5 separate regions of the Homo sapiens genome follow, and regions 2, 3, 4 and 5 are each linked to region 1. The links are contacts of gene promoters, found by promoter capture Hi-C in blood cells and fetal thymus (Javierre and others, 2016). All regions are on one chromosome and are shown on one strand. Each heading gives the region's core, a stretch centred on a gene start or on the middle of the fragment in contact. The rest is flanking DNA. Distances are from core to core; before and after follow the strand shown. Region 1 holds the start of CUX1 (cut like homeobox 1). Region 2 overlaps LINC01007 (long intergenic non-protein coding RNA 1007). Region 3 overlaps CUX1 (cut like homeobox 1). Region 4 has its middle 2.4 kb from the start of MYL10. Region 5 overlaps CUX1 (cut like homeobox 1).

Region 1 (2,788 bases), core at 75-2,574:
TCTCTCTGCAAAGACCGATCAGCCTCTTTACCCCCAGGTGGCAACCCAATCTCAGTATAAAGAGGTCTGGAAAAATGAGAAAAATCTGGAACTAATGAATTCTCTCCCAAACTCGTTCTATTGACTCACTGACTATCGGTGGGAATTAACCAGACACCAACTCCAAAGGCCTCCTCACCGCCCAGAGAAAGAACCAGATTGGCCTGAGACTTGAACTTTGACATTCCGTATTCGACTAAAGTTTGCAAACCCATAGGAAATCATCTAAGGCCAAATCGTTAGCAACCACCAAAAGCAAAGGAGTAAAGAGGAATGAAGTTCAAATAAGGGACTTTGTTTTGGGGTTTGGTTTTGATTTCTTCTTAATATCCACATAAAGTGCAAGTAAACTGACATGGAAACTTTCGATGGAACCCTGGAGCCCTGATCCCCTGAAGAAGTAGCTAATATGGGGGACAGGAAGGTTTAGAGTTCTTAAAATCTAGTAACTCTAGAAACCAAATCCATTTTCCAGGCAATTTTGCCAGGATGCTTTAAAAAAGACACTTCATTGATATTAAGCTAGGATGTCACATTTAGGAAGACAAGAGAGAAAAATAATAATAATGTTTGTCCTTAAAACTCCACAACGGGTTTTACAGTAAGCACAGGAATTAAATTATGGTAAAAGGGAGCTATTTTTACTAAAACAGGGTAGACCAATTTATCAAAAATGCCATTCGGCTGTGTTCATTACATCCAGGAATCTAATTTACACAATAGACACTTTGGAGTAATCTATTTTAGTCAATAAATACTTAAACTCCTTTAAGTTTTAATCTTATCGGAAATACATATTTCGCATAGTCTTCTTCCTAGTTAAGCGAGAAATTTCAGGAAATTTCATAACGACTATGACTCGGCTTTATCGTTCTTAGTAGGCAAGAGCAGAAAACAAGCATATACAATTAAAGTTGTCAGATTCCATTTAAATATGTTTTAATCCAACCCGCTTCGTTTGATACAAGCCTGCATCTCGAGCTTTGCTCCCAAAGGTATTGCGGTAGGTCACTGTCACCAGTCCTCCAGGTTAGGAAAGTTCAGCCAAGTTTATCTTCACGCACACCTTAGCAGTTGGGAGTAGCTGCAGTTCCCCAGGGGCCCTGAGGAACCCTCCTATCCCCTCCCAGAGCACCAGGCCGCCCTAGAGCATTCTAAGCCGCGGGACCCGGGCACCCCCCGACATCCCCGGTTCCCTCCGCGCCTGCAACCTCGGGACTTCTGGCCCACACGCCGCTCACCTTCAACCTGGCTCCGGCTACGCACAACATCCACCTGGCAGAGTCCCGGGGCTGTCCCGGCGCCGCGGGCGCCGAGCTGGCACGTGCGGGGCGGACCCTAAGGGTGCGCCGCTCCTCCGGGCGGGGGGTGGCAGGCAGGCACTCGCCCCTTGGGCACGGCGGCGACTCGGGCGCGGGCCGGGGAGCCCCGGCACGGTCCCCCCGCGGCGCCGGGGACTCCGCGCGCGGACCACCGCCCGGCATGCCACGGTCCCAACGGGCCCCCGGGGCTCTGCTTTCGAGAACCCGGCCCGAGAAGGCATCTCCGAGCGCACCCGCCGCGCGCTCCATGGCGGGCCCTGCAGAGAGGGCAGAAGCCCCGAGGGGACGCAAGGAAGGGACCCGGCGCCGCAGGTCACCGGGGGCCGCCGGAGCCCCCAGGCGCGCGGCGATCGCGGCTCGGACCGGCGGCGGGGAGGCAGCGTACACTGCCCGGGCACCCGGGGGAACAGCTTGGGGCCTGCCTAGGGGAAAGTTGCAGCCTCCTCCTCCCGCGCCCGCACCCGGCGGTCCGGGACACCGGGACCCAGCGACACTGCGCGCGGGGCACCCCCGCCGCCCCTCGCCAAGTTTCCCCAAAGAGCCCCCGCGGGGGTCCGCCACGGAGGAACAGGTCCGCGTCACCGACACAGGCACACAAAAGAGCGCGGCGGCCGCGAGGTGCGCGGGTGGCCCCGGGGCGCTCCCCGGGACGTAAACAAACCCGGGGGTCCGCGCCGGGAGCCACACGCGGGGTGCCGGAGCGGCGGCGCGGCCCGGGCCGGTGACAGCCGGGGGCGGCGGCCGGGGCCGGCCGGGGGTAGCGAGCGCGGGCGCCTGCCCGGCCACCCGCCCGCCTGGCCGGAGCCGGGCCGCGCCGCCGCCGCCGCCGCCGGTGGCCGCTCTGACCCTCCCCCGAGCCGGCGGCACCACAGCGCCACCAGCCCCAGCTCCGCCGCGCCGGCGGCAGTGGCGGCGGCTCCTCCTGGAGAGGCAGGCGCTTCACCCCCCGCAGCAACTCCCCACAAACTTTCCCCGGGAATACGGCGGGCCGGGGGCGCGGGGCGAGCGGGCGGGCGGGCGCCACCGCCGGGCCGCGGCCCCCTCCCGGCGCCCGCCGCCGCCCGCCCCCCGCCGCCCGCTCCCCGCTCCCCGCTCGCGCGCGCACCCCGCGGGCCGCCGGGGCCGCCCCCTCCCCGGTCCCGCGGCGGCAACGGCGGCGGCGGCGCTGGCGGCGGCGGCGGCGCGGGGCCCGGGGGGGCGCCCGGGGTGGGGGCAGACACCGGGGGCAGTGGTGGCGGCGGCGGCTCCCGGCGCCATCTTGGGCTGATCGATGAATTGAACAAAGAGGATCAATTTCCGATCAAGCGAGTGATCAATGGGGGCCGGGGAGCGGGAGGGACTCGGCCCCGACTCGGCCCCGCGGTGCCCGGCACCCCCCTCCTCCCCGCCGCCGCGGGCCCCCCGGCGGCTGGGCCAGCCCGGGGCCC
Region 2 (2,788 bases), core at 79-2,578, 260 kb after region 1:
TGGAAGTGCAAGCGGCGGTGTCCACACATGCATGCAAGAACCTTCCTGAAGCTGGGCAGAGGATCAGATGGGCCCGCCCTGTCTCCTTGGCTGCAGGGGTGAGAGGAGGTGAAGATTTGAGGGGGTCACACAAGGCCAAGAGCTGGGCTCCCCCTGGGGCTTTGAGGCCCTTCCCCCAACAGCGCTGTCCCATTTCCTGCAGACGCTTAGCACTGCTTTGCGCGGGGGGAGCCAGCCTCCACAGCTGGACAGAGATGAGGCCGGACAATGGGCAGACCTCCTGGCTGACTCCTGGGGCTGCAGCCACTATGTGTGCAGAAGGTGGTCAGGACAGGGACCCAGGTGACAGCACCAGGGGGCAGAGCTCAGGCTTGAGGCCAGGAACAGGGGAGCCACAGCAGATTCATGAGTGAGGGAGGAGCAACGCCAGGCTTGCACTTCAGAAAGGTCATTCTACGGCCAGATGGCAAGGAGAGGCCAGACTGAGACCCTCAGTGGTCAGTTTCCTCTCCCTCCAGCATCACGGTCCTCGGAGATCCCCACCCTGGCAGGTGCTTCAGTGTCCTGGGAGATTCGTTCCACCCCCACCCAAATCTCCTCTGCCCTTTATCCGCCCCCAGCCTTTGCTCACACTTGGCCTCTTCGGCAGCGCCATCCCTGGGTTTATGTGAACTCTCTTTTTTCCTTCCAGAACCGCTTTCTCGGGGGCAGAGCAGAGCATGGCTTCCCAAATCCCACAGACCTGATCTGGAACTCAGCTTCACCGCCAACCGCCTGTGTGACCTTGAGGAAGCTATGTAACCTCTCTGGGGCTCAGCTGACTCACCCCAAAATGAGAGAGGTGGCTGTGACGTTAAAGGAGGTGACATGTTTCACTGTTTAGCACTGGATCTGTCCTCACCATATTAAGGACCAACTCACACCCAGCCCCTTGGGGGAGACCTTCTCCCTCAGCTCTGTCTCAGACCTTCTCTGGGACCCACAGTATCTGCTACCCTGGCTCCATCGAACACACTCCGGGCTGGCCCGTCCACCCTGCTGGCGGGAGCTTGGAAGTTGTTTTTCCCCAAACATTCCTCATACAGCCCTTTCCCTACCCTCCTAGACTCTGCTGGTCCCATCCAGGCTCTCCCATAGCGGGATCCAGGGACCAGAGGAAAAATGAAGGCATCCCATGAGTCTATTTAAAAGTTACACATCGAGGCTGGGTGCGGTGGCTCACACCTGTAATCCCAGCCCTTTGGGAGGCTGAGATGGGTGGATCACCTGAGGTCAGGAGTTCGAGACCAGCCTAGACAACATGGTGAAACCCCGTCCCTACTAAAAATACAGGAAAAAAAAAATAGCTGGGTGTGGCGGCAGGCACCTGTAATCCCAGCTACTCAGGAGGCTGAAGCAAGAGAATTGTTTGAACTGGGAGGCGGAGGTTGCAGTGAGCCGAGATCGTGCCACTGCACTCCAGCCTGGGCGACAGAGAGAGAGAGAGAAAAAAAGTTATACATTGAGCTAACCAGCTGTTAAGTAACACAGGCTCTATCTTCCTACTTTGACAGATATCTTTTTCCAAGGACCTGGAAGGCCAGGTTTGACGTTGGAATTGTGACTGTCAGAGTCTTGTGCTGGAAGGTGACAGCCGGGAGAGCCAGCCCCTGTCATCCTCCAGCCCTTCTGCTTCCCTCACTAGCTTCCACCTTGCACCACGGGGGGCTTCGTGTGCCCACCTGAGGGTGCCCACCTGGAGCGTCTAAGCTCAGTTCACACCCTCCAAACTCAGCAACCCCTTGATTGAAAGACAAAGGTGTCATTGGGCGTGGAGTCTGCCTTTAAGACAAAAGGAAGGGGAAGACCTTGGGGGAAGTGGGGGCAGCCCTGGGGCAGGACGTTTTGGTGTCCTAGGTAATGCAGGCAAATCTCTCTCTTAGGATCCCATCTCTGCCACTGGGTCTGGGGGAATGAATGCCTGCTGGTCTGCTTCCCCAAGGAGGAGAGGAGGTGTTTTTTCACACACACACACAAAATTAAAATAAGTTTTAAAAATTAAAAAATAAGACTAATTGTCAGCTCCCAGTCCTTAGCGCTTCCATATTGCTGATCATCTGGACGTGGCTAGGCTTCTAGCCTATCATCTTATTGGCTTTAAAAATACATACACTTACCACCTATTTTGGTTTTGTTTTGTTTTGTTTTTGAGACGGGGTCTTGCTCTGTTGCCCAGGCTGGAATGCAGTGGTGTGATCTCAGCTCACTGCAGCCTTGACCTCCCAAGCTCAAGTGATCCTCCTGCCTCAGCCTCCAAGTGGCTGGGACAACAGGTGCATGCCACCACATCTGGCTAATTTTTTTTTTTTTAGAGATGGGGTCTCACTATGTTGTCCAGGCTGTTTATTGCCTATTTTGACTTCTTCCCCTTGAAGCGTTGGTTCATTGAGGGCAGAGATTCCTGTCTTTTGTTCATGGAAAGTTCTCAGGGCCTGGCTCAATTAAGGTGATCAATAAAAGATTTGTTACATGAAGGAAAGGAGGAAGGAAGGAAAGATGCGTGGTTTTGTAACTCCTGCCCTGGGAAAAGGAATAAAAGGGGCGAGGACATTTCTCCAGCCTAAACCTACTCACACTCCCTGCCTGGGACAGTTGCCCAGTGGTTCCTGCCAAGGTTTGACTTCAGGCACCTGCCCGACCCCGGGTCTCCCTGTTTGCTGAATGAGCTGTGCCTGCTGGGCCCAGGACCTGTGGCTGGAGGAAGTATCCCAGAGCCAATGGGGCTTGGAAGAAGAGGCTCCGGCTTAAG
Region 3 (2,788 bases), core at 161-2,660, 190 kb before region 1:
CTACAATCCAAACTCTGGGTGCGGCTGGCGCCAAAGCTACTACACCATGCTGCCTTCTAAGCTGCATTTCATCTGGAACCGCTGTGGCTGGCAGGCCGAGCCTCTGAACACTGCAATTCAGGTTAATCATGCAGACCTGCTGGAGCACGCGGGGCCGAGGGTTCCCTGTACCTCCCTTCTCTCCCCTGCTGTATGGATCTCTGACCTCACTACTGGCAGGCCTGAACTGCCATGAGTGATCAAGAACCTGAGAGGCCTCTGATCTGCTCCACCTACATCTGTGCCCACCAGGAAAAACAAAAATCCTGATAAAAGACCTGGGGTGCGCATCAGGATTCACCATGACTGTGCTGTGGTCTCGCCTCCTGAAAAGCTATTTTGTTCATCGTAAGTAGGCAGTTTGACAATTGCTCAATGTTCAGGCCCTACCCCATGTCCTGTCCTAGTCAAGGTCAGGGAAGGAAAGGTGCCTTGTCCCCAGGCATGTGGGCCCCCAGCAGAGCAGGACAGGCTGGGGACCTGGGGTTCTTAGGCTCTTTTGGTTGGGGGCTGAACACTGGTCATATCCCAATCTCTAGAGAGGGCAGAGGAGGACAGACACGCACTCTGCACCTCAGGGATTACACGAGGAGAATAAAGACACGCACACGACCGAAATACCAGGCAGGAAATGAAATGTGCCGAAAGACAGGCGCAGCTAGCCTACAACGGGGGCCCAAGGAATGAAAATCCCTCTTTGCTGGGCTGGGGGCACCTGAATTGGGTGATATTTGCCACAGAGGGGCGAGTAGAGGTGGGGGGGCTTTCTAGAAAGAGACAAGATACAAACAGAAGGAAAAAAGAGGAGATCCAGAGATACAAACAAGGTGAAGCTGATGGAGTAAGACATGGGAGAGGGGGCCAGCGGGGACAGGCTCCCAGATCACCGAAGCCCCTAGAAGAACCCAGACATGGCCTGAGAGGCGGGTGGACGGCCACCAACCATGCAAAAGGTAGTACGCAGAGACCAGACCAGGGTCTGCTTCAGGAAGGTGACTCCTGCTAAAGGACAGGCCAGAGGGGAAAGCCTGGAGATGGAAGATACCAGCTGGGAAATACAAGTTTGGACGAAGGTAACAGAACCAGAAGTGGTGCCTGTAATCCCAGCACTTTGGGAGGCCAAGGCAGGTAGATCACCTGAGGTCAGGAGTTCGAGACCAGCCTGACCAACATGGTGAAACCTTGCCTCTACTAAAAATACAAAAATTAGCCGGGTGTGGTGGCGGGTGCCTGTAGTCCCAGCTACTCAGGAGGCTGAGACAGTAGAATCGCTTGAACCCAGGAGGCGGAGGTTGCAGTGAGCCGAGATCGCACCACTGCACTCCAGCCTGGGTGACAAGAGTGAGACTCTATCTCAAAAAAAACAAAACAAAACAAAACAAAAAAAACACCAGAGGTGGGTGGTGGCGAGGGAGGGGGGAGGAGGAAGACAACGTTCCCCAGAATTAAAATAAACTGGACTTGGCAAGCAGACTGACGGGAACAGGAGAGAGTGGGGCTTTGTAGAAGTTTAGGGCCCAGGTGAGGGTGGCAGCCCCTGCCACAAGCCAGACAGGAGGGGTGCAGGCCAGGAACTGATCTGGTGGTGAAGATGATGAGAAATCCACGTGGGAAATACCCGGAGCTGGCAGGACTTCCACAGAGAACCCAGGCCCTGGCACCCAGGGGCGGAGGGTGGGAGGTGAGGAGGTTCTGTGGCCAGGGTGCTTGGAAATGTCCCCTTAACAGGAGAGGGGAAGAGAACAGAAAGGCTGCAACAACTAAAAACTATAAGGGGCAAAAGGCTGAGACCTGTGGAAGAGCCGAGGGCCTCAGTGAGTGAGTGGTCTGATCTGAGAATGAACTGAGGGGTTCAAAGTCAGAGAGGGCCATGGCTTAGGTACAGGAGGCCGAGGCTGCAGTGAGCCAGGATCGCGCCCCTGCACTCCAGCCTGCGCTACAGAGCGAGACCCTGTCTCAAAAATTCAATCAGTAACAAATGAAATACAAACAAAATAAAAATTCAGAGGGCCATCAGTGAAGACCTCGGGGCATCTAGGCTCCGTGCATGGGGTCTGTTCCTTGGATGAGGCCAGCAGCAAAGATGAGAGATCCATCCCAAGGCAGCTCGTGCAGAGCCACTGCCAAGCAGAGGAGGAGGCCCGCGCTGGCGAAATCTACAAGAAATACACTTTTGTGTGGGAAATCTAAGAAGCAAGGGCTTTCCGCTGCATCCCGGCCTGCACCGTGGTGGGCGGGGACGGCTTCTTGCTCCTCTCGCACGCCCAGCATGGAGCAGCCCCTTGCACCCTTGGCAGTGACGCCTGATGCATCCAGTGGTTTTATTCCACATCTGCCCGTCACAAACTGTTCTAGATGAAATCAGTTTCTGAAGATGACAGCCCAAACCCATTCACCAATAACCTTATTTTCCCTAAAAGAAAAATTCATTCTAGGGCCGGGCACGGTGGCTCACGCCTGTAATCCCAGCACTTTGGGAGGCTGAAGCGGGTGGATCGCCTGAGACCAGCCTGGCCAACATAGTGAAACTCCATCTCTACTAAAAATACAAAAATTAGCCAGGTGTGGTGGCGCGCTCCTGTAATCCCAGTTACTCGGGAGGCTGAGGCATGAGAATTGCTTGAACCCGGGAGGCGGAGGTTGCAGTGAGCCGATATCGTGCCATTTCACTCTAGCGTGGGTGATAGCGCGAGACTCTGTCTCAAAGAAAGAAAAGAAAAGAAAAGAAAAAAAATCCATTCTACCGAGA
Region 4 (2,788 bases), core at 166-2,665, 190 kb after region 1:
AACAAAAAACAAAAAAAAACCCCAAAGCATAGCAGTGTGCTCAGGGGTTCTTATGGATCAGAAATTCAGAAAAGGGATGGTGAGGGTGGCTTGTCATAATGTCTAGGGCCTCAGCTCGGGGGACTCTAAGGATGGGGATGACTCCATGGCTGGTGCCAGAATCACTTGAAGACTGGTCATTCACACGTTTGTTGTCTGGGAGGCTCGGATGATGACTCAAAGGCAGGGACTGCTGACTGGAGTACAGACACGGGGCCTCTTCGTGTGACTTGGTCTTCCCTACAACATGGCCGCCTCATGGTAGTCAGACTCGTCATAGAGTGACTCAGGGCTCCAGCACAAAGTCCCAGCAAATAAGGTAGAAGCTCCATGGCTTTTTGTGACTTAACCTCAGAAGTCACATAGTGACACTTCTACCCTACTTTCTTGGTCAAAGCAGTCACAAAAGCCTGCCTGTTGGCAAGGAATGATGTTATAGATCCCGCCTCTCCATGGAAAAAGTGTCAAAGAATTTGCAGGCATTTTTTACGGCAGCCTGGGATTGCTCAGGGAAGGTCAGAAAGTGGCCTAGGCTCTCAAATTCAGTAGGTAGGTGTGATGGCTAATATTAAGTATCAACTTGATTGGATTGAAGGATGCAAAGTATTGTTTCTGGGTATGTCTGTGAGGGTGTTGGTAGAGGAAATTAACATTTGAGTCGGTGGACTGAGAGAAGCAGACCCACCCTTAATCTGTGTGGGCAGCGTCTAATCAGCCAGTGAGGCCAGAATAAAGCAGAAAGAAGAAAGTGGAATAAGAAGACTCACTGAGTCTTCCAGCCTTCATCTTCTGTGCTGGAAGCTTCCTGCCCTCGAACATCAGACTCCAAGTTCTTCAGCTTTTGAACTCTTGAACTTAAACCAGTGGTTTGCCAGGAGCTCTTGGGCCTTCGGCCACAGACTGAAGGCAGCACTGTTGGCTTCCTTTTGTTTTTGTTGTTTTTTGTTTTTTGTGTTTTCTTTTGAGACACAGTCTCACTCTGTTACCCAGGCTAGAGTGCAGTGGTGCTATCTCAGCTCACTGCAACTTCCACCTCCCAGGTTCAAGCGATTCTCCTGCCTCGGCCTCCCGAGTAGCTGGGATTACAGACGCACACCACCACGCCTGGCTAATTTTTGTACTTTTAGTAGAGACAGCGTTTTGCCGTGTTGTCCAGGCTGGTCTTGACCTCCTGAACTCAGGTGATCCACCCACTTTGGCCTCCTAAAGTTCTGAGATTACAGGCGGGAGCCACCACGGCCGTCCGAGAGGTGTTCTAAAGCAGGCTGGAGACTGATTGTGATGAGTAGGGAAACATACAATGTGGCCAAAGGCTTGGAGGAAGGAGATTTCGGGAAGAATTTGCAGAACAGCCAAGGTCAGGGTGATGGCTGGCCAGGGAAGGGGTCAAGGGCTGTGGGGCTGGGGGACAGGGACAGCCTGCTGACCCTGAGGAGTTATAGGTGAGAGGTTAGGGGTGAGGGTTGAAAGGGGAAGGCATCTCCCCGGCTTGTTCCAGTGTTGTCTGGGGAACAGCTGTCCCCCTGCCAGGCAGCTGGGCTCGTTCCAAGCTCCCTTCCTGGCTTGGCCACTCCCAGGACCTCAGTTACCTCTGGAAACCGAGAGTGCTAAGTATTCTCTGACTCAACCCCAGGCAGACCTGGAATTCCAGTTCCAGAGGACACTTACTCTCCAGGGTCCCCTGGCTGGGAGCAGAGACCTCTCAGAGTGTCTCTGACCCCAAGAACTGGCCCTGGCCCTGTGGTCAGTTGAGTCAAACAGTGTGACCCAGCCACGACAACTGACTCATTGCAGTGTCACCTGGGTGAGGGGGCTGCAGCTTGGAGAGGCTGCAAGTTCTGTCAAGGACTCCATCTACACAGGGGGAAAGGGGGACAGGGGAAGGCTCTGCCCTCCAAACCCCAGGCCGATGACCCCAAAGCCCACCTCCTTCCAATGGCACTAAGCTTCCCGATGGCAGCCTCAAGGGGTCCTGGCTGCTGGCACCATTTCTCAGATGGGGAAAACTGAGGGTCCCACTGTGGGTGCAGAACTCACGGCTCCCCCTTCTCAAGGCCACTGCACCCTCACACTTCCCGCCCCCCAGGAACAAACATCTCCCAACCATCTCACCCCGGGGTTTTCACGTCTCTACCAGATTTCTCACCGGTTCTTCCTGCCTCCGGTCCTATGAAGGAGGAGGCCAGGGGAGGAAATCCACTCAGACTAATTTGTAAGCCCGGTGTGATTCACCAGCGCCGCTTCCCCTCCTCCGGGCAGGCGGGGGGGCTCTCCGCTTGCTCAGGCCTGTCCCCGGCCTTTGGGAGCCCCTGCCACGGTCCTGGGCGTGCTCCCCGGAGGCAAGAGCCCTTGCTTGCAGAGGCCTCAGGGCAGCAGGAAGCCAGAGGCAGGAAGCAGGAGTTATAGGTCTGCTACCCACTCTGTAAGCCCAGAGCCAGGAGGCCCCAGGGCCAGGCTCACAGACCGGGCATGGAAAGCCTGCACCCTAGCCACTGTCGCGGTCACACAGGCCCCCTTCTGTAGCAGGTCCAGGCGGCTGGGACTGGAATCCAGGCTCCCGTCCCCAGAGCTGGGTTCTCCTTTCCGCCTGGCTTGTTGAACACCTGTGGAACGTGTGGTTTTTCTCCCCGGAGAGGAACGCCAGGACACCAGGAGAGCAGCCCTGTCGGGGAAACTGAGGCACACGGTTTCCTGCTGCAGAAAGCGGGCTGCACAGCATCATGGCTGGACCTGGCCCCAGCTCTGGGAG
Region 5 (2,788 bases), core at 192-2,691, 140 kb before region 1:
CCGATTAATTGCCAATCCTCCTTTACACGTGAATCTCATTAGAGAAACCTGAAGCGGGCAAGACAAACACAACGAACCTTGCTGCAAAAGCTAAAACGACAGATTCCGGAGACATTTCGGAATGGTGGAATTGAAAGAAACATCAGGGCAAACACAGTTGGTCACTGGGTCGAGGATGAAAAAAGCACCGAACGGAGGCCGCCCCAACCAACCAGGCGCCGGAAAAAGCTCTCTCAATTTCATTTCATGGGACCGTGCGATTCTTACGCAACCGTGCCAATGTGAGGCATCTCGATGGCATTAAAGTCTTGTTAAAACAGCAAACCTGTTCTTTTCAAGAGAACAATGGTATTCTAAAAAGCCTTGCAAAATTAATCGAGTTATTACCCTATAAAGAGTCAAACATGTAACTATGTTTAAAAGGGTCCACAGGTTGTACCATGTCCAAACAGAGAATATGTACGCGGTGAAATCCTCCGCAGAACACCTTCCCATTAATTAGGCAGTGGAAACAGCAGCCTCCCCAAATCGAGCAGGAACAAACAGGAAAGAAAAGAATATACTTCTTGTGAGAGAGAGGGGAAAAAAAATACACGCAAACAAAGAAATTAAAGGCAATGCACTCCACCCTCGATAGAATCAGTTTCAACAGAAATAATGAGAGATCTTACGTGGGCTGCCATGATTTCTTCACGTTGCTCTAAAAGCGGAAGGCGGCTTTCCTGGTTGGCACCCGAAGAGGCAGAACACTGAGGACTCAGAGCCCAAAGAGAACCACCGCCTGCCTTAGGAGGGGAGTGCAGCCTGGTTTGCCATATAATGACGAGAAAAGCAAATCAGCTGGGAGGAAAGAAGGCAATTCTTCTTATCTGGGATAGGAGGGAGAGAAATAGGAAAACTTCCCAGGTGGTGAGTTAAGAAAAAAGGGGAGAGGAGTATTGGCAACTTGGGAATGAGGATGCCAGGTGAATACCCTTGTCTTAGCCACGCTCTCTTGCACACACACACACACACACACACACACACACACACACTGCACACACATAGAGCTAGGTAAGGAAAACATTCTGGGGGAAAAGTCTGTTTTTCCTGAATCTATAGGCACCATCCAATCATCCAGGCTGGGCGTGGTTGCTCACACCTGTAATCCTTTGGGAGGCCGAAGTGGGCGGATCACTTAAGCCCAGGAATTTGAGACCAGCTTAGGCAACACTGCCAGACCGTGTCTCTATAAAAAATTTAAAAATTAGCCAGACATGGTGGCTGGCATGAGCCTGTAGTCCTAGCTACTTAGGAGGGCTGAGGTGGGAGGATTGCTTAAGCCAGGGAGGTCGAGGCTGCAGTGAGCCACGACTGTACCACTGGAGTCCAGCTTGGGCGACAGGGCAATACTGTCTCTTAAAAAAAAAAAAAAAAAAAAAAAAAAAAGGGCATCATCTCCTTATGACAGAAAAGGAATTCTCTCTGTGTTTTCATGCTTCTGTGAAAACTTCAGGACTGGCCAGTGGCTCATGCCTGTAATCCCAGCACTTTGGGAGGCTGAAGTGGGCAGACTGCTTAAGCCCAGGAGTTTGAGACCAGCCTGGCCAACATGGTGAAACCCCGTCTCTACTGAAAATACAAAATTAGCCAGGCATGGTGGTGCGCACCTGTAATCTCAGCTACTTGAGGGGCCGAGGAAGAAGAATCACTTGAACCTGGGAGGTGGAGGGTGCAGTGAGCTGAGACTGTGTCACTGCACTCAAGTCTGAGCAACAGAGTGAGACTCCGCCTCAAAAAAAAAAAAAAAAAAAGAAAAGAAAATCTCAGGACCACCCTAGAGTCCTTTTGGGTTACTCCTCCCACTGAACCAAGTTCCATCTCCTAAATATTCTCACATCTTGCTGCTGCTGCTGCTGCTGCAGCTTCAGGCCGGGCCCACATCCTGGCTCCCAAGTAGGGCCCAGTTCCCACGACAGCCCCACTACGTCTCTCCTGAGCCCCAGGGTTCAGCACAGATGACATGACTTACACAGCACACACCAGATGTCAACGCTGTCATTTCTGTTACCTGTGTGCCCCTTCCCACCTTTGGGTTGGAGGTTCTAGAAGGAGGGGGGCTATTTTTACCCACCTAGCACTCTGCACACTTCACACGGAGTCTGGCACATGGCACGGTGGCAATATTTCCACTAATAACAGCAAGTATTCCAGAAACATGTTCCAGCAAAGGGCTCGCATACTTTTGTCTCATTTAATCACTTTAGCAGCTCCATGAGATGGGTACCAGAGATCCCCCATTACACGGGTAGGGACAAGGAAACTCAGATGACTGAATTACTTGCCCAGGGACTGCAGTGAGTAAACGGCAGCTGGGGTTCTGATCTGTGGGACTTCCAAACTCTCACACTTAACCACTGTTTCCGTTTAAAGATGTCTGGTGAATAAATTAATAAGTACGAAGAGTCTTTCAAAAAGACTCTATTTTGCAGACTTGGACATTTTCTTATTGTTTTCAAATTAAAAAGTAACATTCTCTTGTTTTTTTTAAATTATTTTATTTTTTAAGAGATGGAATCTCACTCTGTTGCCCAGGCTGGAGTGCAGTGGCGTGATCTCAGCTCACTGCAACCTCCACCTCCCAGGTTCAAATGATTCTCCTGCCTCAGCCTCCCTACTAGCTAGGACTACAGGCGCCTGCCACCACACCTGGCTATAATTTTTATTGTATTTTTAGTAGAGACGGTGTTTCACCAAGTTGGCCAGGCTGGTCTCGAACTCCTGACCTCAGGTGATCTGCCTGCCTCAG

Evidence for each region. Contacts are between HindIII fragments. The CHiCAGO score rates a contact against its expected background, and 5 or more counts as called.
Region 2: a fragment that was not itself captured here is called in contact with the fragment with the promoter of CUX1 in region 1 in 1 of 17 cell types (M2 macrophages); the score reaches 5.3 in M2 macrophages.
Region 3: a contact is called between a fragment that was not itself captured here and the fragment with the promoter of CUX1 in region 1, in 2 of 17 cell types (M1 macrophages and fetal thymus). The highest score is 5.4, in M1 macrophages.
Region 4: a fragment that was not itself captured here is called in contact with the fragment with the promoter of CUX1 in region 1 in 1 of 17 cell types (M0 macrophages); the score reaches 5.7 in M0 macrophages.
Region 5: a fragment that was not itself captured here is called in contact with the fragment with the promoter of CUX1 in region 1 in 1 of 17 cell types (M1 macrophages); the score reaches 6.1 in M1 macrophages.

The regions. Positions count from the first base shown.
Region 1 is chr7:101,816,162-101,818,949 of GRCh38, reverse strand. CUX1 (cut like homeobox 1) reads right to left here and starts at 1,324. Exons shown (of 24, transcript NM_181552.4): 1 at 1,281-1,324. The coding sequence starts at 1,310. RefSeq lists silencers at 1,375-1,424, 1,475-1,544, 1,575-1,654, 1,725-2,044, 2,155-2,314 and an enhancer at 2,140-2,788. The HindIII fragment of the contact is 10,531 bases long and covers 1-2,788 here.
Region 2 is chr7:101,560,991-101,563,778 of GRCh38, reverse strand. LINC01007 (long intergenic non-protein coding RNA 1007) reads left to right here. Exons shown (of 3, transcript NR_103749.1): 3 at 692-1,024. Among named protein-coding and RNA genes, the nearest start is that of LINC01007, 6.6 kb to the left of the region's middle. The HindIII fragment of the contact is 9,098 bases long and covers 1-2,788 here.
Region 3 is chr7:102,006,369-102,009,156 of GRCh38, reverse strand. The region is part of intron 2 of CUX1 (cut like homeobox 1); the gene reads right to left. Among named protein-coding and RNA genes, the nearest start is that of CUX1, 190 kb to the right of the region's middle. The HindIII fragment of the contact is 4,137 bases long and covers 1-2,788 here.
Region 4 is chr7:101,630,325-101,633,112 of GRCh38, reverse strand. No RefSeq gene overlaps it. Among named protein-coding and RNA genes, the nearest start is that of MYL10, 2.4 kb to the right of the region's middle. The HindIII fragment of the contact is 1,145 bases long and covers 843-1,987 here.
Region 5 is chr7:101,957,485-101,960,272 of GRCh38, reverse strand. The region is part of intron 2 of CUX1 (cut like homeobox 1); the gene reads right to left. Among named protein-coding and RNA genes, the nearest start is that of CUX1, 140 kb to the right of the region's middle. The HindIII fragment of the contact is 3,714 bases long and covers 1-2,788 here.